Regions from separate parts of the Homo sapiens genome. Here all the other regions are linked to region 1. Evidence: promoter capture Hi-C in human tissues and cell types (Jung and others, 2019). All regions are on one chromosome and are shown on one strand. Each heading gives the region's core, a stretch centred on a gene start or on the middle of the fragment in contact. The rest is flanking DNA. Distances are from core to core; before and after follow the strand shown.

Region 1 (2,569 bases), core at 1-2,500:
GACAAAGCCAGACTCCATCTCAAAAACATAAACAAAATAGAAAGGAAGCAAATTAAATTACGCTTTTGAAAGAAAGCAATTTATTAGAAGCCAAGAGAAAAGAAGTGATGTGATGAGAAGTGGAAAAGGACAAGAAGACAACAATGGACTAAGAAAGGAAAAGGACCATAATAAGCATAAGAAAGAAGAGGAATTGTGTGGTGGTCAGAAGAGATATTGTAGAAAGGAGGGAATGGCAGTCATGTGAAACGCGAAGCCGCCATCCCAGTCAATATGGGTGGGATGATGGGAACATTCCCCACATCCTAAAATATTCCCACAATGAGCTGGCTGTTCGAACATTATAAGGCTCTTTTCTGGTGTGTGTGCATGTTGCTTGTATAAGGCATATGCCCCCGACAGAAGTAATGTATTCAACTTTTAAGTCACTTAGTCTTTGAAGAAGCACTTTCAAAAGCGGATTTTTTTTTTTTTTTTTTTCCTGGAGGGAGGCTGACGGGACTAGAACTGAGGAAGAGTGTGGAAGTATGTCATAGCCATGGGCAACAGGTGCTGGCAATGTCAGAGATGAACTCTGCCTATTCACAATACTGTCAAAGTATAATTTTGAAAAAGCTAAAGCCATAATTCCCAGACAATTATCTAGACACTCTTACAAAGTGACGCTGTGTTAACTCGACTCATAAGAAATCAAATGTGTTAATGAAAAAAGAAAGGAACTATTTAGAGCTATTTCAGGCAGGGGGTGAGAAAACGGGGTAAAAGACAGGGGAAGAAAAGAGGGGGAAGAGGCGTTCCTGGAGGCGAGAGAGCCTGAGAAGGTGTGGGAAGCTTCGGGCTGGTGGGGGTGCATCGGGGAGCTGCCGCTGAAGTAACAGGGCTGGACGAGGGAGCCAGGGAGTACGGGGTGGGGGGGAAGACACACCTCCAAATTCAGCATTTCGGACTCTGAGGACTCCTCGGATCCCGCCTCGCCCTCGCCCTGGTCCTCATCTCCGTCCGAGTCCAGCTCCTGATAGCGGTGCATGAGCTGCTGGAGCAGGTAGGAGGAGGCTATGTTAGAGCTGCCTTTCGTCTTCTGCCCCATGGGAAAAGACCAGCAAGGCTGACGCTCTTTTTCTGCGCGAAACTGTAACGATCGGGCTCCAGTTCGGGATCTGCCCAAGCCTCTCAGGAGAGAGGCAGCTCTGGTCCTCAGGAGAGCCCTCTCGGAGGTCGCCATCTTGTTTAGCGGGGTTGCCTAGGAGACTGACCCCAGGCAAGGGGAACCGCGGAGGATTCTGGGGCCTGTAGTCTCCTCCGCGCGTACTCGCCTTCTGCAGGCGGGGCAGTGGGCGCTCCACTTGACTTTTCTTTTTCTCAGTCTCTTCTGTTATTTTTCTCTCTTTGGTCTGTTCTGTTCGCTTATCTTTCCTGTTTTCACCTCTTTTCGCTACACCCCCTTTCTTTGTCTCCAGCTGTTTCCTCCCTACCCTGAGACCCCTCTTAGAGCTTTGTCATCCCACGATAGGATCGCAGGTGCGCCACCGTTGCCGCTTCATTCCCAAAGGGCTCTTTCCGCAGAGTCGTACTTTAGAAGTGTCTAATGTCTCTAAAGCAGTCTGTAGGAAAGCTAGTACCACTGAAATTTATGCAAAGCGCGACGCTAGGAGATGAGGGTGCATATAAGTGAAATAGAAGGCATGGTTCCTGTCCTTATGATTTAATTGCAGATAATAAAGAGAAACTACCAGACGACGCCTGAGAGCTGATTTCCAATTAATTTACATTCCCCACCCCCACCCCCCAATGATAAGCCTTGTCCTTGGGGAGAAAAACTGGCAGTGGTCTTACAATCCAAACAGAGAGAGAAAAAACTGCTGTCAAATTGACACTGTATCTGAAAGCGTCTGAAAAGCTATTAGCATCCCATAAATAATTATATTAGTCAAGTGACCTGCATTGGCAATTATTTTAATCTTGTTGCACAGGCTCTCTTTGCAGTTAAAAAAAATACTCTTTCAAGATAACAAAGCACGATTTTATGCTAGTGTGATTTTATGTGACCCAAATCCCATAGCCTTAAGCTCCACAACGTCGACACTCTATAGAAAAGCAGAATGAAAATTATAGTAACTATTATTGCCATAGTGATGACAATAGAGATCCTTGCAGGGAAGTAGCCCTCATCCTTCTGGCCTTACAGGGCCTTTTCTGCACGCTTCAATGACAGCAGTTGCAAATACAAAATGATCCTGTCAATGGCTGTCAGGGGAGAAGGAGAAAAAATCCTTATGGACACCATCCATTGACGATTATCTTTCTCAGTGCTTGAGGGACCGTTAAAACTGACATAAAGCTTTCAGAATTACCTTCCTTCATTATCTTGCTAGTCATAAATGTAAAGGCCACAAGCAAAATATCTCTTTCTGCCAGGCTCATCTTGCTTTTTGCTTATTTCTTTTTCCAATAAGTAGAGATTCCTCCAAGGGAATTTTCCCCACCCTTACCCTCGTAGGGCCTGGCTTCGGCTAAGTGACATAGGGAAGAATCAGGCAGAAAGTGTAAAAATGCAAATCTCGATCGTTTT
Region 2 (5,085 bases), core at 854-3,353, 1.4 Mb after region 1:
GGAGGAAATACACTACCTAGAAACAGAAGAAACGTTCTACAATGTATGCAGAAACATGAGCCATACATATTGGAAGTACAACCTCTACAGATGATGGCTGAAGATATGGACAATGGGTTAGACAGAACCAGTTCCTTCTTTCCTACCTTTTTTTTTTTTTTTTTTTTGAGACAGTCTCGCTCTGTCACCCAGGCTGGAGTGCAGTGGTACGATCTTGGCTCACTGCAAGCTCCGCCTTTCAGGTTCAAGCGATTCTGCTGCCTCAGCCTCCCGAGTAGCTGGGACTACAGGTGCGCACCATCATGCCCGGCTAATTTTTGTATTTTTAGTGGAGACGGGTTTTCACCATGTTGGCCAGGCTGGTCTCGAACTCCGGACCTTGTGATCCACCTGCTTCGGCCTCCCAAAGTAGTGGGATTACAGGTGTGAGCCACCGTGCCTGGCCCAGTTCCTTCTTTCAAAGCTTTCTTTCAAAGTCTTCTGTGAGAAAAGTACTCCAGAAAGTTGGATGGGTAGGTCTGTCAACAGAAAGAAGTCTCAACAAGCTCAGAAAATAAAATGATAACAGCAAATATTGGCTAATGCTGTGTCTGAGTCCCAGACTCTCTCTGGTGGCCCTTTTGCTCCACACGCAGCCCACAGAGGCCTGGAAGTATCAGGGGAGGACCAGGGCCTTCAGGTCGCCCAGGAAACAGGAGGATAAAGCTGTGAGAGTGCAGGGATCTAGGGTACAGCTCAGTATGATTCAGCCTTCCCAGAAGCCGACCACAGCAAGACATTTGCCTGTGTTCTTGCAGTAAAAGTTTTGATGTCTCTCTTATAGTTTAATGCTTGCCATTCCATGGATGGCATAGTTGCTTTCATTAAAATTTGATAGCATTAAGAGAAGAAGCCAGGCGTGGTCACGTGCACTGATAGTCCCAGCTACTTTGGAGGTTGAGGCGGGAGGATCCCTTGAGCCAAGGAGGTGGAGGTTGCACTGAGTTGTGATTGCTCCTCTGCACTCCAGCCTGGGTGAGAGACCCTGTTTCTTAAAAAAAAAAAAAAAAAAAAAAAAAAAGTAATAATCACAAAAAGAATTAAAAATGGATTGGATTTAGGAATTGTCTGTGGGAAGTGAAGTGGGCAAGAGTGCAGAGACCGCTGCTGTGCATGGAAGCTGGAGGAGCGACTAATCTGGATAGCCCTGGGGTCATTTCCTGCCTTTGGAGCACCTGGTCCAGCCAGGCCCAGCCTAAGCCCACCTCTTTGAGAATGATGAGTGCTCAGGGGAGCAGATACACTCTGCTGCTTCTCTGGCTTGTAAATGTTCCATTAGTAACCCCTATTGTATATTTACACAACCTGGCAATAGCTGCTTATGCCTCCACACTCCCTTTGCACAACACAGCACTTGTGTATGATTTGCTTTGTTTCTGTATGCATATCCTTTTGAGAAAAAATTAAAACTGTAAGAGCCCATTTATTGAATTTCTACTGTGTGGCAAGCATAGTACTAGGTACTGGTGATTGGAGGGTAAACAATAATAGAAGCAAAAATCCTTCTTGAATGACAGGAGATCTAAGGGCTGTGTTTCATAGAGCTTCACTAACACTCACAGAGGGATGTCTGTGAGTTCAACTCAAACATCTGCCTGTTCTCCTCACCCAGTACCCTCTGCCCTCCTGGGGAAGGAGCTCTCTAGTAAGGGTCCCAGGGCAAGGGGCTTCTGAGATAACCAAACTTTCCATTTGTGTACATCTTTGACCAGCCGTGAAATTTCAGGTATCTGGTATATGCCGTGGCAGGAGAAAGGGCTGGGGGTGGGGTCGTAGCCTTGAGAATATCCTGAAAATGACTGGATGGTAAAGCTGATGATTGATATGCCCTTGAGTTTAGCTTTCACATTGAAGGAGGGATAGGCAAGTTGATGGAAAAAACAGGATTTAGGTTTGCTTTTTTATTTTTTTGAGACAGGGTCTCTCTCTGTTGCCCAGGCTGGAGTGCAGTGGCGCGATCATAGCTCATTGCAGCCTCAAACTCCTGTGCTCAAGCAATCCTCCTGCCTCAGCTTCCCAAGTAGCTAGGAATGCAGATAAGGTAGGAATAGATAGGAGTTCCTATCTACCACAACCAGCTAATTACGAAAAAAATTTTTTGGTAGATGTGGGGTCTTGCGAAGTTGTCCAGGCTGATCTTGAATTCCTGACCTTAAGCAATCCTCTTGCCTTGGGCTTCCGAAGTGTTGGGGTTACAGGTGTGAGCCACCATACCTGGCCTGCTTTTTAAAAATTGAGTGCCTTCCTGTTTTTCTAAGCTTGAATGCCCTTTATAAAAACGAAAATAAAACAAATTTTAAAAACCCCACCATTTATTTTCATTCTAGAGTAGTTGACTCAGCCGGGGTCAACAGGGCCAAAGTGATCAACTCAACCCCTGAGATCTGTGTTGCGAATGTTAGTCGTATATCTGGAGGACGAGGACTTCCTATCTTATTTATCCTCGAACCACTTGTGTTCAGAATAGTTCCAGGCACATATGGCTCAAACAAACTATTGTTTAATACAAAGTAATCTGTAGTATATCTTACTTTTGTATCAACCTAATACTAAAATCACAGATGTCAATAAATAATTCACTAGTAAATGTGTCTCTTAGTTATAAGATTTGGTCCTGAATACATAAATCATGTGGCCCATCCCCTTTCCTCCCCTCAAAAGCTGAGTGGGTGAATGGGTAGATGAATGGATGCCCTGTTCAGAAGTGAGTTTGCCATGAGAGTGCAGAAGTTTAGCTCAGCCCACTCTCCACTATAGGAGAAATGACTCAAGCACTGTCAGCAGACAGAGGAATAGCAATACCATATATAAATTTATCAAAACAAGACAGCATCTATTTTATTGTCAATACCACTTCAACGAAATTAATTTCCTTTGCGGTTTTTGTTTCTGTATTTTGGTAGTCGAATGTAGTGCCCAGCACACGCTAAATAATGGTTTCCTTCATTTTCTCATTTTTGTCTTTTTGTTTTTTTCAGAAAGCCCCTGATTGATTAAATGTCTCCCTGCATATTGCCATTAATCCTGTGCTCTTCTCCCCCAACCCCCTCTCCAGCACCCAGGCATTCTAATTTCATTGTGCAGGGAGCTGGCTTGAACCAAAACAAAGCGGCACACGAACACAGTACCAAGCAATATGGCACAGAAGTGCCAGCTCCAAAGGATTTGCCAGCTCAGGAGAGAAGAGGGGATGGAGGCGGGGAGGCCATGGGTCAGAATGTGATGATAGGATTAGAAAGGACTTGGAAAGAGATAGAGAGCCGAGCTGCTCTGTGCTCCGGACTTGGATGAAGCTGTCATGACAAAGTGATATGGTTTCCTACCCACCTTCTCCTGCTCTGATCCCAGCCACAAAGTTGTAGAGAGGCATGGACAGAGTGTTTTATTACTGTTGAAAATGAAGACCTTTTTTTTTTTTTTTTTTAACCTTATGGGCTGCAGGAAAGCTCTACCCTTTTAGTCCCCTGTTTTCCCTATCTGTAAAATGGGTCTCCTAATGCTTGCTAAGGAAGGCAAAGAAGTGTCTTCGCAAGCACTGGCCTAACGAAACTGACCTTGTCATCTGCTGCACAAAGAAATGAAAAGCCATGGCCAGGCCAGCTCCCTGCTTGACTGGGATCTAAACCTCTTGGGGGGACGGAGCTGCCTCCTGCTCAAAGGAGAGCCCTTCAGAGGGATGTTTTACAGACACTGCTGGAAACATAGAGTATACAGTAAAACACAAAGACAAGTGCATTGAGCTAGAGATCCCATTCATTGTGCTTGACAGACATAAATTACTGACCAGACACAGGCATTTCCCCTCATGGTCATCACCCAGTGAAGGGGAGAGATTTTATTTTCTAAATGATATATTGATCCAATAAAATTATTATTACATCATCTCTACTGGCCATCACGACTCACAGTGGGAGAGCATTACAGGGAAAGTGAATGCTCCCTCTGGAATGGGGTATAGAGATGTATGTGGGTGTGTGCGAGTGTGCATGTTTGTGTAAAGATTTCTGACAGACAGGAGATCGAGACCATCCTGACTAACACGGTGAAACCCCATCTCTACCAAAAATACAAAAAAATTAGCCAGGCGTGGTGGCGGGCACCTGTGGTCCCAGCTACTCGGGAGGCTGAGGCAGGAGAATGGCATGAACCTGGGAGGCGGAGCTTGCAGTGAGCCAAGATCGGGCCACTGCACTCCAGCCTGGGCAACAGAGCGAGACTGTGTCTCAAAAAAAAAAAAAAAAAAGATTTCTGATAGAGAAAGATGGGAAGTTGCATTAATATTAGTTGACTGAGCTCCAGCACTCACATGCAAAACCAAGCATCTTTCCTGGGACCTTCCCCAGTGGGTCACTATTGAAATAAGATGCTATTAGGGAACAACTTGGAAAGGATATAGTAGACCAAGGCCCCAGGGCTTAAGGAGTGAGACTGAAGGGCTCTTGTTAGACTCAATATGTCTTCCTTGAAGTAGGAGGAGAACAAGGAAGAATATACAATTTTATTTTTTTGAGACAAGGTCTCACTCTGTCACCCAGGCTGAAGTATAGTGGTGCAATCATGGCTCACTGCAGCCTCAACCTCCCCAGGCTCAGGTGATCCTCCCACCTCAGCCTCCCAAGTAGCTGGGATTACAGGCACGTGCCACCATGCCTGGCTAATTTTTTTTTTATTTTTTTATTTTTTTTTAGCTAGAGACAGGGTTTTTCCATGTTGCCCAGGCTGTTTTGAACTCCTGGGATCAAGTGATCCTCTCACCTCAGCCTCCCAGAGTGCTAGGATTATAGGGAGGACCGCCATGCCTGGCCAGAATCTATAATGTTGACTTTAAGATATCTGATATTAGGTATATGCCATGGCAGTGGGGAAGGGCTAGAAATAGAGTAGTTTAGTGCAGGGTTCTCAGACCCCCAAAGCCTCAAACCATCTTGTATAGCAATCTAGGAGGAGAGCCTCCTACAATCATGTAAAGATCACAGGAGACTGTCTTCTCCGGAGATAAGTTATTGATGGGCTAATGACCTTGAGTCAAATCGAGTATGTGGAACT
Region 3 (5,085 bases), core at 704-3,203, 1.3 Mb after region 1:
TACTTTTTTTGACATAATGCTATTGCACGCTTAACAGACTACAGTGTATTATAAACATGACTTTTATACGCACTGGGAAACCAAAAAGTTTGCATGACTCACTTTATTGTGATAGTGTGAAACCAAACCTGCAGTATCTCCAAAGTATGCCTGTATTCAGTTTTCCTATTCCAGTGATATGGTGGTTGTAAAATAAAAGTATTTCCTCCCTCTTTCTCTCCCCTCATTTCTCCATCTCTCTCTCTCTGTTCCTCTCCCTTCTTTCCCTCCCCTCCCTTGCCTTATTTCATTCGTTTCTTCTTTCCCTCCTTTCTTTCTTCCCTCCTTCCTTCCTTCATTTCATCCATCCATCCATCCATCCATCCATCCATCCATCCATCCATCAGCAAACATTAAGTGCTGGATTTCAAGATTCATAGACATGATTCCTTTTTCTTAAGGTACAGTAGGTTAGTGGGAAGGAATATAGGGATTATTTTATGGTAGTATAAGTTCTTTAATACAATTTATACTAATCATCCAGTTTAACATTTTCTTACCTTTCTATTCCTTGACACCTGAGGCTTAAAATTTGGATAGACCAGGCATCAGCAAACTGATAATAATTTATACATTTTTAAATGGTTGGGGAAAAAATTCAAAAGAATAATTTTATGACACAACAATTCTATGAAATTCAAATTTTAGTGTCCATAAATAGTTTTATTGGAAGACAGCCATGCTCATTTATGTGTGTATTGTCCGTGGCTACTTTCGTACTACAACAGAGTTGAGTAGCTTTGACAGAGACCATGTGACCCATAAAGCTTCAAATATTTACTCTCTGGCCTTTTATGGCAAAAGTTTGTCACCTCCTGCTTTAGACATCTTTTTTCCCCTAGAAGTTCCTGAGGATAATTGATTGTGGACATATCCAACTATGTTCCAAGACATGGGCTGGGGACACAGGAAAAAGCAACAAACAAGGAGAACCTGTTTCCCACCATCACAGAGCTCAGAGTCTAGCGAGTGGAATACAATACAGAGAACAAAATGAGCCAAAATAGATCATGAAAAGTGTGATGAAAGAAACATGAATACAGTGAGAGAAAATAGGAGAGGGGTTTTCAGATGAGGTGATCTAACGACGAAACACTTAGGAAGCACACACTCACACTCCAAAGAATAGCAGAGGTAGCGGTCCTGAGTGCTCCAGCCACCAGTCTTCCTCCAGTTTTCCTCGGGAAATGGCACCATTACCTACTCAGTGGCTGAAGCTCACAATCTACGACACATTTTTGGTTCTCACTTTTCCTCACATTCCCTCCTTCCTCTCCAATTCATCAGGAAGTTCTGTTGATTCTACTTCCAAAACATAGTTCAATTTTGTCTGTTTTTTAAGTCTATTACCACCATAAACCAAGCCTCCATCTCTCTTAGCTGAACTCTTGTAATCACTCCCTTGTCTGTCTAGTCCATCTTCTGTTCCCTCCACCACTGTCTATTTTCCAGCCAAGAGCTATGGTTTTTTAAGAACTTGAGTCTGGGCCGGGAGTGGTGGCTCACGCCTGTATTCCCAGCACTTTGGGAGGCTGAGGCGGGTGGATCACTTGAGGTCAGGAGTTTGAGACCAGCCCAGGCAACATGGTGAAACCTTGTCTCTACTAAAAATACAAAAATTAGCCAGGTGTGGCATGCACCTGTAATCGCATCTATTTGGGAGGCCGAGGCAGGAGAATCTCTTGAACCCAGGAGGTGGAGGTTGCAATGAGCTGAGATTGCGTCACTGCCCACCAGCCTGGGCAACAGAGTGAGACTCTGTCTCAAAAAAAAAAAGCTTGAGTCAGATTATATCGTTTCTTTGCTGAAAACCGTCCATGCTTTTCCATAGCCGTTAGAATAAAATCCAAACCCATTACATGCCTGTTAAAGAAGAAAGGAAGCCAATAAGGCCTGAACATGGGGATTGTCTGATGTGCTGGACTGGATATAAGATGGTGTAAGAAAGAAAGATGATTCCTGTATCTCTGGCTTCAGCAAATGTGTGAAAGATAGAACCAGTTACTGAGTCTAGGAAGACCAAGAGGAATAAGTTTGTTCATTGAAACAAACAAAAAACAATGTGGGATTGTGTTCTCTCTCTCTCTCTCTCTTTCTCTCTCTCTCTATCTATCTATCTATAAAAAAAAATCTGTTTATTTTTGAGATCGAGTCTCACTCCATCACCCAGACTGGAGTGCAGTGGCACAATTTTGGCTCGCCACAACCTCCTGGGCTCAATTGATCTTCTTGCCTCAGCCTCCAGAGTAGCTGGGACTACAGATGCGCGCCATCACCCCTGGCTAATTTTTTGTATTTTTTTGTGTAGACATGGTTTTGCCATGTTACCTAGGCTGGTCTTGAACTCCCGGGCCCAAGCAATCTGCCTCACTGACTTCCCAAAATGCTGGGATTACAGGCGTAAGCCACCGAGCCGAGCCCTGTGTTTTAATCAATTTAAATTTTAGGTGTTTCTGATACAATTGATTTCAATAAAACATTTGGACCATTGAGTATGGAATCAGAGGCAAGGTCTGGGCTGGGTATATAGATCTGGGAGTTGTCAGCCCATGAGGGGAGTTTAAAGCCATGAGACTGGAAGAGCTTCGCTAAGAGACCAAGTGTAGGTCAAGGAGAAAAGTGGACCTTGAACAGCCCTGAGGTCTGAACTGGGGGTTACTTCTTAAGGGAAGACAAGAGTCCAGTGGAATTCCTCCACAGGGACTGAAGGGGAAGGAGGCAGGAGTTGTGCTAATTTATCCAGGGAAGCAGTTCTCCATCATCTTTAGAGGAAGTGGGAATCTGGGCTGGACAAAAGCCAAAGATTATTAAGAGCGTCTTCTACAAACAAAGTCTCTGGCTAATCTAAATTTAATTCTGGATCTTGTAATATATAGTTTAGGAGTTCATTTAAATTTAATTTACATAGGGTGAAAATAAGCTTTGACCTTTATAATTGCTGTATCAGTAAAGTCACAGGTTCATTGACTTGTTAGCCAATTTTTCCTGTGTTACTTTTCTTCTGGTTTTGTTGTTGTTGTTTCAGTTTGTAATATACAGATTTAAGAACAAGTGTCTGGATATCCACAAAGGCATCACAGACAGCTGACATGTGGATCTGCTTTTGTTTGTAATTAAAATGGGCTTAAATCTCATCCCCCTTACACTAAGTAAAATATATAATTAGAATTTTTAATATATAATAACTTTTAAATATCTCATTGTAGGTTCAGGGAAGGTAATAGTATTCAATTAGAGGCTAAATGCCACCTCCTACACAAAGCCTTCTAATTGTTTTGTATAGATGGTGATCTCTTTTCATAAGGCATTCAATACAGTGATCTGGAAATCAGTACGTTAATACAGTGATTTGCAAATCACTGTACTGTAGCTGTTAAGCATATTACCTCTGGAGCTCGGCTGCTTGGATTTGACCCTGGCAGTGCCACAGACAAGCTCAAATGACCTGGTAAATTATTTCATTTTGGAGGGCCTTAGTTTTCTCATCTGGAAAATGGGGATAATTGTACCAACCTGATGGAGTTATTGTCAGGTTTGCATGAGACAATCTATGTAAAGCGCATGTCCTGGGATCAGATTTAAGAACTATTTAGAAAAAATGTCTGTATTAACACTTAGCTAAAATACGCCACTGATTTGTAAAGATATTATTATTAGCATTTATACCTTTCTTGTCCTCAGAGTGATTTGATGGGATATGGGCAATATTCTAAACAATATTAAATCAGGAAGGCTTTAGTTTTCTAACATACAAACTCTCAGAGAGCTGAAGACTAAAAATTTATTTTTCTTTGTATAACCAGTACCTGGCACAATACTAGGCTATTCATGCTTTGTTGAACTGAGGGCTAAAACTCAGAAAGTTGATATCAGAGAATTAGGATGATTGGGGCAAGGGCTGGCACACGCCATCTGCTTGAGGGGTTGTGTTAGTGGCTGTGCAGAACTTTCCATTGCATCATTACTTTTGTTTTTTGTCAAGAACGAAAGGTATATAATAAAAGTTGGCTCAAGAGAAGTGAAACTAAAGAGAAAAGAGGAAAAAAGTGAAGATGCCAGGTGCTCATGCCTGTAATCCCAGCACTTTGGGAGGCTGAAGCAGGTGGATCACCTGAGGTCTGGAGTTCAAGACCAGCCTGGTCAATGTGGTGAAACCCCATCTCTACTGAAAATTCAAAAATCAGCCAGGCGTGGTGGAGTGTGCCTGTAGTCCTAGCTACTCGGGAGGCTGAGGCAGGCGAATTGCTTGAACCTGTGAGGCTGAGGTTGCAGTGAGCTGAGATCGTACCACTGCACTCTAGCCTGGGCAACAGAGTGAGATTCAGTCTCAACAACAACAAAGTGAAGAAAGAATTGAAAAAGAATCGAAGAAAGCCCTACTCTGAATGAGCTCAAATGCGTCTCAGCATAGAGGAATACAGACAAGTGTGCCAGTTCTTCTTGTGGAGAAGCACTGTCCCAGAAGACGGGAGTTATCCTGTGACCTGCTAGGCCAAATAGGCTTTTGGCTGGACTAAAGTAGTTGAGCCTCTAAATGACTTTACTCTCCTTCAGCTCCGATTCTTTCAACACAGGGGTATCTAATTTCTAAAACCAGACCCAGTGGGATTGAGTGGCTTGCCCAAGGTCACAAGCAGTCAGGCCCCTGTTAGGAAGTGCCCCCTCCCATCCAGAGATGTTCAGCTCTAAAATAGGCTGCCTAGGCCAGGCGCAGCGGCTCATGCCTGTAATCCCAGCACTTTGGGACGCCAAGGCAGGCTGATCACCTGAGGTCAGGAGTTTGAGACCAGCCTGGCCAACATGGTGAAACCCCATCTCTATTAAAAATACAAAAATTAGCTGGGGGTGGTGGCGGGTGTCTGTCATCCCAACTATTCAGAAGGCTGAGGCAGGAGAATCGCTTGAACCTGGGAGGCTGAGGTTGCAGTGAGCCAAGACCACACCATTGGACTCCAGCCTGGGCAACAAGAGCAGAACTCCGTCTCAAAAAAATAAATATATAAAATAGGCTGCCTTCTGAGATTTGCCAGTCTCCCTGTCACCAGT
Region 4 (5,085 bases), core at 985-3,484, 1.1 Mb after region 1:
TTCTGGCATCTGTACATTCTTGTGATATCTCACAGAGACCTGGAGTGTTTAGGTTGCAATTTGTACCCACCTTTTCCATTTCTATTGAATTAATAATGGAGCCCTCATCCCTCTAGGACATCAGGAGAGAAAAAAAAATAGACAATGTGATGATTAGCAGAGAGTAATTTTGATTACCCTAAGGAAAATTAAGATGATCTTTATAAGTGGACCGGGCAAAATGTGGTTTTGGTGAGTATGGAGCTAGAGAAAGCTAGTCATGTTTGGGCACCTTAAGGCAGAGATCATGTTGGGGAAAGATATTTTGGTGTCATCCAAATGTTTATCTGTTTGAAAAATCCATATAAATATTAGTAGATTATTTGTGACTATCTATCTGTGGTCATACAAACCATAAAATAGCTAGATTTCCCACTTTTTTTCATTTATCAGGGTGAATATTTTAGCCCTGTCTAAAACAATGGTGCGCAGTGGTGGGGCAATACTGTACCACTTTAGAAAGTGTTTGAGTAGTACCCCACTTGAGGAGTACGGCACCACTTCAGGCACTTTAGGAATTTGAGGGAAGCTGTGGTGTTTAGTGGCACGGGGAGGGATCTTCATGGCTAGCAGTGCCTGGGGGTAGTTTCCCATCTCCAAGAATTGTCCTGTGCCCTCTAACTTCTGAATGTCCCATCAGAGATTCATGGAGCTGAAAACCTATTTACCTGGCTGAGAACTTAGTTGTTTTATATATAAACAGAAAGTATGTTTTGCATGGTTTTAAAGTATACTGAATTTTCCAAGAGTGAAACTACTGTGTAACAATAGCTTTTGCATTTGTGATGATTTAGCACACAAACTCAAGATTCAGACTGTTTTATTATGTCTGCTAGGGTAGTTATGTTTGAACGTTTACATAATGAGATGCCATTATTTTATTATAAATTAGCTTGTTTTATTTAAATATTACACTTAGGGCATTATATTGATTACTTTTCTTGGTCACACAGGACCATTTGCGTGAAATGGAAAAGAGCTTGGGTGGTTTCTGTACTTCATTTAGTTTGGAGAGTTAACACTGTATTATAGTTTTATCTCCAGTGAACAAAATATAATCATTTTTGAAACAAAAAAATTAAGCTATGTATCAGAAAGCAATATCCAAAGGTAATTATTATTTTTTAATTTAAATTATAGATCTTATTTTCCTGGAGGCTGTGTGAGATCTTGCAACTATTATTCAGAATATTAAGACATGAAATACTAGATATATCTGATTCTCAATACGGGTTTTAGGAATTGTCTACTTAAGATGTCTAAACTGTAGAATATGAATTACGAGCTTATCTCTTGCTATACGGCTATAGCCCAGTATTGATGTTTTCTTTCCTACATGGAATGGAACATGGAGCTAGTTTCTATGGGTGCTTATTGTGAAGCAAACAATAAAATGAACATTATTTGCGTAATATGCCATTCAGATGAGAAATTTACAAAGGTATATACATCCTGATGGAGTGATAATGCTACAAAATAAGCCATTAACTTGATGCTGTTGATGTTCAGGTTGCCAAACTCTTCCTAACACTGCCTTCTGGTACAGTATTTATGATTATGAATGTGCAGTGCAGAACTTTCATTCTACCATCTTCATTAACTTTAATGCGTAAGTAGCCACAGTTACCCCTGCCAGGTAGTAGACAGATGCCATTTGTTTTGAAGGCACTCTTAAGATACATTCTCCTTATAGGATGGTGAAGGTAACTGTCAGCTGAATATACCTATATTCTCTGTGTGCCTGGTTTAAATCAGGTTTATTTGTCTGCCAACTAAATGGTGCCACAAATGGATAATAAACATGTTTATTTCTAACTCTTGAGATTTATCCTAGTCATCTTTTGGCTCTTCTTCCAATCAAACCCTGTAGCTTTTAGAAGATAAGGAGCAGGACAAGATTTATCCTGTAACCTATGCTGTTAGTCATTTAGCTCTAATATACTTGGTGTTGTATTTCATTGATTGCATGGATGCTTTGATTATTATTTTCTTAAACAATAATTGCTCTTCATTTTAATGAATTTATTGAAATTATAAGATTAATGAGTATTTCTATTGAGCTGAAAATTTAATTTGGCTATATCTTATGGTATAACTTTTTGCTCAACTATCTCAATCCTGGGAGAATCAGAGTCTTTATCTGAAATCTGCTGCTTATATTATGCAGGTACATATATTTATTTTGTTCTCTTGGAAGATCTTCATGGTTTCTCTTTAGTGTGTTTAAACTAGCACATGAAAATAATAGACTTTACAAAATTGGCCATGACCTATATCAGCAAATGGTGAAACCAGAAAGAAAAATACATTAAAGGAAAAATCCCAAAGGAACTGATATTTCTCTAAGAAGCAAGGTATAACTTTTATTAAGCAACTTAAAGAGATTGTTTAAGAAATACTGTAATTGGGGAGGGAATTATAGTGTAAGGATTATGCAAAAAAAAAATGAAGTAAAAGGGAATTACAAGTGGGAAAAGTTACAAAGGAAATTAGTATGTTCCTTGAGGTTCAGGGAATCTATGTATATTTCAGATCATGGTTGCATTTTCAGTCTTCTGTTTTTCATGGTTGATGAGTTCATCAAGTCCTTCCATCTTTTGGAGTCATTTCTATTCACCATTCAAGGATCTATCTAAAATGTATAATTATGTCTCCCCGTACCATTCCCTCCCTTCATATCTTTAGTTTAACCAGTTTCGGTAAACACAGGAATTTGAGCATCACCTGTCACATAGAAGACAGGTGATGTGTATTGAACTTATGTTACACTTTCTTTGAGGAATAAGAATTTCCTCACATTTCCTAAGAATACTCAGGATCAAGTATAAGTTTAGGAATCTTGGACTTTCTTATTTGATCCTGAACTCAAATTTATAGCCCAGAAATTTTGGTGGCTAAGTGGGTCAAAAGATTCCTAGGCAAACCTTAAAGAAGACCCTTGGACTAGCCAAAGCATTTGTTTAGAATATTGTTTAGTAAAGACAAACAAAAATTTGTTAGGAATCCAGAGCTGCTTTCAATCATCCAAGTATTTATTATTTTCAGTAATGGTTTCAAGTAAATGGTTTAGAGCCACACTTGCTAGAACTAAGCAATTGCAATGCTTGGCTTTTTCTGACATGTTTTATGATCAGTGTTTATATCTATAACTAATTGACAAAATGCCAGTGTTTGTGTTCTTTAAGATACATTCACCATTGAGAAAGAAATTAAAATGGTTTCTGAGAAGAATTTTAAAAAGTACAGACTATACAAGTATGGAAAGAAAACATTCTTTTGTCTTAACACATTTCTAAAAGGAGAGTATGTGTGTATATAAAAGCCATGGAACCATACTTACTGAACTTGAAATAGTTTTGCAAATTTCCATGGCAAATGGGATTTATATTGCTTGAACATTTTTTTGTTTTTACTCCTTTTCTCATTTCACAAACTTTGCCAGTTCCCAAAGATTTGCTTGGAAACTCACTGTGCTAATAGGCAAAGTTGGCCTTTCTTGTGCTTCTCTTAAACTAGCCCTTCCTGAAACACTGACCTTTTAGTTTAATAACAGTTTTATTTGAGAAAATGTTCAGATCCTGGGAGCTGAAAAGAGTGTTTTCAGAAAGGCCATTTTAAATAGTGGTCTCCAAATGCTGTATCTTTTTCCCTCATGCACTTTGGGTCAGACCTATCAGAAGAAATACAGTATTGCTTTATGTATTCTATTGATTTAAAAACAAATACCATGAAGCTTAGATGTGCTCAGAACCCATTACCTCACTGGTTTATTTTCCTGGCTGTGCTTTGATTTGCTATTTTAGATTTCAAACTCTTTATGCTAGGTCATGTTTTTATTTTCTGTTATTTTAACTTCTCATTTGTAGCTAAGGTAATTACTTTTTCAGTTGTGACCTTGGACTTGACCCAAAAGTTGTGATTTTTTTTTTTTTTCCTTTTCTGGAAATAGGTAGGGCATTAGAAAGATAGCTGTGCTTTGGCTCCTTTATGGACCAAAAGTGATGTCAACCAGCTGGTCACTTGGACATGTCTTTTTCAGTGGCCATGGGAGTGTTCCTGTCCCTTTCATTGCTGTTGTTGTCCTCTTCCCACGTTTTTCTCTCCTCTCATGGCCTACCTGGACGATGCCACCTGTAATCTGTATCTCTTTCTCACCTCACCCCACAGCAAGTGGCAGGGCTGATGATAGTAGGGAGAAGGGGATAGAGAAGGAAACAGCAAGCCTCCAGTCTGCATTTTCTTCACCCCAAACCACTTCCTCTCCACATTCTCACCTGGATGGCTTCGTGCCTATCCACCCAGCTGGTCACCGTTTGATCACACTGGAATAAACAGCTCGCTGCTGATTTGAGCTTTTCCTCTGGTAGGAAGACATCCCTATGTTATAGGCATAAAGTGCACTATGAAGATATGACATTGTGCCAAGTGAAATAAGCCAGACACAGAAAGACAAATACTGTATGTTCTTACCTATATGTGGAATCTAAAAAAGTTGAGCTCTAGGAAGCAGAGTAAAAGAGTGATTACCAGGGGATGTGGGATGGGGAAATAGGGAGATGTTGATCAAAGAGTACAAGCTTTCAGTTATAAGATGGTGACTTTAGTTAATAATATTTTTTACTTGAAATTTCATAAGAGAACAAATTTTAAGTGTCCCCAATGTTCCCCACCCCAATGGTAACTGTGTGGTGCTCGATATATTTGTGGTAATCATTACATGATTCATATCAAATCATCACATAGTTCACCTTGAATATATATGATTCTATTTGTCAATTATACCTTAATAAAGCTGGAAAAACCAAACTGCTTAATCTCTTTTCTGTTGCTTATAACAGAATACGTAAAACTGGGTAATTTATAAGGAAAAGAAATTTGTTACTTAATGTTATGGAGGCTTTGAAGTCCAAGGTTGAAGGGCTGCATATGGTGTGGGTCTTCTTACTGGTGGGGACTCCTGTAGAATCCCTAGGTCATGCGGGGCATCACGTGGTGAGGGGCTCAGTATGCTAGTCCAGCTCTCTCTTCTTTTTCTTTTCTTTTCTT
Region 5 (5,085 bases), core at 1,537-4,036, 1.1 Mb after region 1:
TACTTATTCACTGTGACTGCTATCTTCACTAGAAGAGAAGCTCCAGGGACCTTATTCCTCATTTGTTTGTTCACAGCTGAATTCTTAGCTCCTAGGATAGTGTAACCTGCTTCTTAGTAAGTGCTTATTATCGTTTGTTGAATTAATTTAAGGGCATTATCCATTTTAAAAGTAGCTACTTTTGTTCATTCTGGAGAGTTCTATACATTTAATTCAGGTGACATATATTGAATGTTTCTATTATGTAAATAAATAAGCCACGTTTTTATTTTTTTTTTTCTTTTGAGATGGAGTCTCGCTGTCTCCCAGGCTGGAGTGCAGTGGCGTGATCTTGGCTCACTGCAAGCTCCGCCTCCTGGGTTCATGCCATTCTCCTGCCTCAGTCTCCTGAGTAGCTGGGACTACAGGCTCCCACCACCACGCCCGGCTAATTTTTTATATTTTTAGTAGAGACGGGGTTTCACCGTGTTAGCCAGGATGGTCTAAATCTCCTGACCTCGTGATCCGCCCGCCTCGACCTCCCAAAGTGCTGGGATTACAGGCGTGAGCCACCGTGCCCGGCCAAGCCAGGTATTTTGAAAAGATGCAAAAATAGGAAAAAGTTTTTTTTGACAGATAAACTACATATATAACAAGACTGTAAGGGAGGTAGAAACATAGTATAAAAGAAACCTAGGAGATACTGAAAATAAGTTTATCAAATATTTTGGCTTAAGAAGATGCCTTGTCGTGCAGAAACAAATGGCTGTCCAGTTTATTAAAATGCCCAACAACTGCACTTCCAGTCACTCGGGTCTTGCATATAAATACCACTGCATACAGTGAGCACATCTAGCTGATGATAAATATACCTTTGCTTCCTCCTCTTCCTCAAAATGGTGAATCTGTTCTTATCTACATGTATGAACTTAAAATACGGAAAATGTTAAGGGAGCAAATGGTTTGTAACTTTGTAAGTACTTATGACGTGTATCTTTTTGCTTATGAATATTCTGTGCTATAACCATTGTTTCTGTAGTTTAATTAAAACATTTTCTTGGTGTTAAAAAAAGAATGATGATATATGGATACATTTAAAATTGGAATTTGTTCTAAAGTATGATTTGTTGTAGGTAGATTTTTTTTCCTACCTCCTGTGTTACGGAGTTAGCGTGATGATCATGATGATTCAATATACTGAAGTAATGATAGATGACACTTAAAATTTATTACATTGTAGGTACTCTGCTAAATCCTGTGTACGTCTTATCTCATTTCATCCTTATAACCCTATGAAGAAGGACCTGTGATAACCCATTTTATGTAGAAAGAAACTGAGACTTGAAGTGATTAATTATTTTGCCCAAAGTCACACAGCTGGTGAGCAATGGAGATGAGAGTTACATTCAAGTTTGTCTGACTCCAGAGCAAATGCTGTTAACCACTTTGTCTTATTTTAATTTGAATGACATCTTGCTTTAGAAAGGACGTGATAGAAACTAGTTGGAATGAAGGAGCTGCTTTTTAGTGATGTTCTGCTTGAACTAAGGAAAGAACCCGTTGTCTATAAGTAATTGTTGGTTGTTCTAGCTTTTTCCCATATTGGCCTGAGTGGAAGGAGAGAAAATGTTTTCTCTCTTGGGTTGTTTTGATATTTCGAGAGAGTGGGGATGGGTCGGGAGGTTTTCTATGAGTGCCTGTGGTGTGTCTGGCCCGAAGAGCATGCCACTGATGTGAAGAGTTCTGGCTTTGCTGAGGGACCCATCCCTTCTCACTCCCCATTTGAAATGACTGATGAACTCTTTGGTCCATGACCAGCTGTGACCAGCCTGGGCACTGAAAGCTCTTAGAATGCCATCTTGTGGGCCAGGCTTGGTGGCTCATGCCTGTAATCCCATCACTTTGAGAGGCTGAGGTGGGAGGATCACCTGAGGTCAGGAGTTTGAGACCAGCCTGCCTAACATGGTGAATCCCTATCTCTACTAAAAATACAAAAAATAGCTGGGCGTGGTGGCACATGCCTGTAATCCCAGCTACTCAGGATACTGAGGCATGAGAATCGATTGAACCTGGGAGGCGGAAGTTGCAGTAAGCCGAGATTGTGCCACTGCACTTCAGCCTGGGCAACAGAGTGAGACTCCATCTCAAAAAAAAAAAAAAAAGTATGCCATCTTGTGTTTTAGTGGTCAGGCTAGAACTACACTTTCCAAATGGTAGCCACTAGTCACATGTGGCTCTTAAAAGTTAAGTGAAAATTAAGTCGATCAAATGAAAACTTTAGCTCTGAAGTTGCACTCTTCACATTTTATGCTCAGTAACCGCATGTGGCTTTTGACTACCATATTGGAAAGTGTAGATATAGGGCATTTCTATTATTGCAGACAGTTCTGTTGCATAGCTCTGATCTGGAACACACCAGTGCTTTTTATTTTCTATCTGCACCATGATGTGAAAAAGACTCAACAAGGCTCATAGGACAGGTTCTTTGAGTACATGATTTCTCTCACCCTTTCCAACCTAACCCAAGAAAAGAACTAAAATTTGGCATGCTATTTTGAAATGATCTTGCTTTAGGTTAAGAATGCAATTCAACTATGTGTAAATTAACAAAGATTTATTCTTCTTAGAATTAAAAAAATAGGCTTATAAAAGCATGAAGCTTGAACATTTATGTTTTGTTCTGAGTTTGTCTCATTTAGGAGTTTTAGTTAGTACTCAATAATAGATTTCTTAGGATTTAAAATTTAGATGTGTTATGAAATAATTTTTCAAGCCTACAAAAATGTATTGATAAAAATGTCACTCGCCTTTTTTACATTTTTCAGTGTGAAGTAAATTATATATTAAATGTGAGTTAAATTTTAAGTATTTATTAAAAAGCCTTCTTTCTCACAGGACTCTTAGTCATACCAGCCCTAGGCTATTCATATGTGTGAATATAGGGCAGTGTATTTGATGAACTGAGAGCCCTAGGATTTCTGTATATAGGAACTCAATTTTGTCATAAAAATAGTTTTGAGAATACATTTTATACTATAAGAAAGTGGGTTCCTCTGAAGACTTTACTGAAACTTTTTTTTCATAAAAAATATAATTTTTTTGCTAAACCTTGAACCAGATCAGTGGCTCGTTGCAGTAAGTATTCGCATGTAAAGCTGTTTGGGCAAAATAATATACTGTGTGACACACAGCAGATTGTAATGCCACTTTAATAAATGAATGTGCTCTCAATAACTTAACTGTGTCCTTGCTGCCTCAATTTTTTTGCTGCGTTATCTCAACTATATTGGTTTGCTTTTATACCAGATAATTTTTTTCTTAGGCTGACATAAGGAGATGTCATTGCATATAGTTATAAACTTACCTTTTCATTAACATCTTGCATCTTTTGATTTTAAAAAATCAATTTTGGGTGCTGATTGTTTCCTTTCAACCTGATCTTTTAGTTTTTCTGGCTTATAATGAGGTCAGACCTCTCATGGTTGACCCTACCTACCGCTGAAGAATCTGTCCCCAAATCAATATGAAGAAACAGACAGGAAATGATATTAGGAGATGTTTTGTTGTTTTCGTAAGCTACTGGCAACCAGATAAAAATGATGAATCTGGAAAAAAACAAGACAAATGACCTAACTTTTATTATCATCCTCACTGTAGAAGTTTCTCTGTAAATTTCTCGTCATTGTGAAAAATAAGAAAGATTTGCCAGTTTGTGTTAAGTATATCACTGAGATCACTAAGTATTTGGCAGCCTTAACAAATTGCAGGAAACCAATTTGAGCAGGAAATAACACAGCCTAAACTAAACAGCCAATTTTGGGAAACAGATTCATGTATAAGTTCTGTGTATTTTTCTCCCAGAATCTGGCCCTCCTAGTTATTTTTAAACAGCTCTTTAAGGCTCATTTAGACATAACACTGTAGGGAGAGTTCAGAGAAAATAAGCTTATTCCTTTGACTCGAGTTACAAGAACTGAACATCTAGGTTTCCAACTTTTAATATGTGAAACTTTGTGGATGCCAGTGTCTCAACTGTGTACTTTTTTTGTGGGCTGTAATGGTTGATTTGCCTGACTGTTCCTAATAGTAAGAAACCTAATTGCTATTGAATTAAAGGCATTAAATCTAATTCTCTAAGTCAGCATATTCTGCTCTGAAAAAGAAATCTGCCAACAGTCTAGGGTTGAAGAACTCATGGTTGGTTCCATCAGTCAACAAGTGTTAGCATGGCCGCCATCTTTGACCTTCAAGGAATTACTAGTTTGGTCAAAGCATATTTAATGTTACAGTGTAGTGAATGAGTACTAGTTTAGTCGCCTCCTCTGTTAATATTTTTGAGAAGGTGAATCAACATGTGAGTGAGATAGAATGTATAAGAGGTATGGAAAGTGCTTTAGGAATTTAGAGAAAGAGTGTCAGGAGCTTTGGCAGGCAGGCCTGGCATCAGGGGAAGTGAACTTGAGCCAAACTTGAGGCTAAGAGGGATGGGAGGGGGGTTAGAGTAGAAGGTAATCCTGGTAGAGTTAGCACACAGACCAGATTAATTCAGATAAAGGTTTCTTGTAGGGTCTCATGGGTGGGTAGGTTGAAGTCAATGAGTTTAATTCTATCCTATAGGGCCTGGGCAGCTTCAGAGCTGTTCTATCTCATTTTAGGATGCAAGTCTGGAAAGTTACATTAGTTGTGCCTTCAGATATACCCAGATATTAGTAACATTTTTATTCGTAAAGATATAGTGCTGGTTTTCTTATTGATATTTTTATATCCAATAAACAAATCCGAGTGGTAAGAATATGTATTTTCCACCATAGTACTAAATAAAACCATTTTCATCTTCAGTTAAGTAAAGAAGCAGCCCCATAAGCATTTTTGTTTGTCCGTAATTGGCCCTATTGCAGAAAGAAAGAAAGAAAGTTGCCCTCAAATGCGTGAGACAGCATGGCAGGCTAGGGTGTAACAGATGAGTTCTGAGCAGGGAAGGTGAATGAAGCAAGTGGATCCTTGGAAAGATAAGGTAAAGAAAGGATGTTAGTTGGAAACTAGCAATCAGGAAGGTCAGCTGCTGCCTGGTCTAGGTAGAGTGGCAGGGCAGAGGAGGGCTTGGCT

The links. Contacts are between HindIII fragments. The study calls those that stand out against the background at their distance.
Region 2: a fragment that was not itself captured here is called in contact with the fragment with the promoter of LRGUK in region 1 in 1 of the 25 tissues and cell types used here (dorsolateral prefrontal cortex).
Region 3: a contact is called between a fragment that was not itself captured here and the fragment with the promoter of LRGUK in region 1, in 1 of the 25 tissues and cell types used here (dorsolateral prefrontal cortex).
Region 4: a fragment that was not itself captured here is called in contact with the fragment with the promoter of LRGUK in region 1 in 1 of the 25 tissues and cell types used here (spleen).
Region 5: a fragment that was not itself captured here is called in contact with the fragment with the promoter of LRGUK in region 1 in 1 of the 25 tissues and cell types used here (dorsolateral prefrontal cortex).

The regions. Positions count from the first base shown.
Region 1 is chr7:134,126,021-134,128,589 of GRCh38, reverse strand. LRGUK (leucine rich repeats and guanylate kinase domain containing) reads right to left here and starts at 1,250. Exons shown (of 20, transcript NM_144648.3): 1 at 926-1,250. The coding sequence starts at 1,222. RefSeq lists enhancers at 968-1,237, 1,348-1,397. The HindIII fragment of the contact is 8,230 bases long and covers 1-2,569 here.
Region 2 is chr7:132,711,759-132,716,843 of GRCh38, reverse strand. The region is part of intron 3 of FLJ40288 (Putative uncharacterized protein FLJ40288); the gene reads right to left. Among named protein-coding and RNA genes, the nearest start is that of FLJ40288, 66 kb to the right of the region's middle. The HindIII fragment of the contact is 3,804 bases long and covers 202-4,005 here.
Region 3 is chr7:132,857,364-132,862,448 of GRCh38, reverse strand. The region is part of intron 5 of CHCHD3 (coiled-coil-helix-coiled-coil-helix domain containing 3); the gene reads left to right. Among named protein-coding and RNA genes, the nearest start is that of MIR3654, 180 kb to the left of the region's middle. The HindIII fragment of the contact is 4,510 bases long and covers 1-4,208 here.
Region 4 is chr7:133,028,900-133,033,984 of GRCh38, reverse strand. All of the region lies in intron 2 of CHCHD3 (coiled-coil-helix-coiled-coil-helix domain containing 3), which reads left to right. Among named protein-coding and RNA genes, the nearest start is that of MIR3654, 3.5 kb to the left of the region's middle. The HindIII fragment of the contact is 3,921 bases long and covers 274-4,194 here.
Region 5 is chr7:133,063,313-133,068,397 of GRCh38, reverse strand. The region is part of intron 2 of CHCHD3 (coiled-coil-helix-coiled-coil-helix domain containing 3); the gene reads left to right. Among named protein-coding and RNA genes, the nearest start is that of CHCHD3, 16 kb to the left of the region's middle. The HindIII fragment of the contact is 3,742 bases long and covers 916-4,657 here.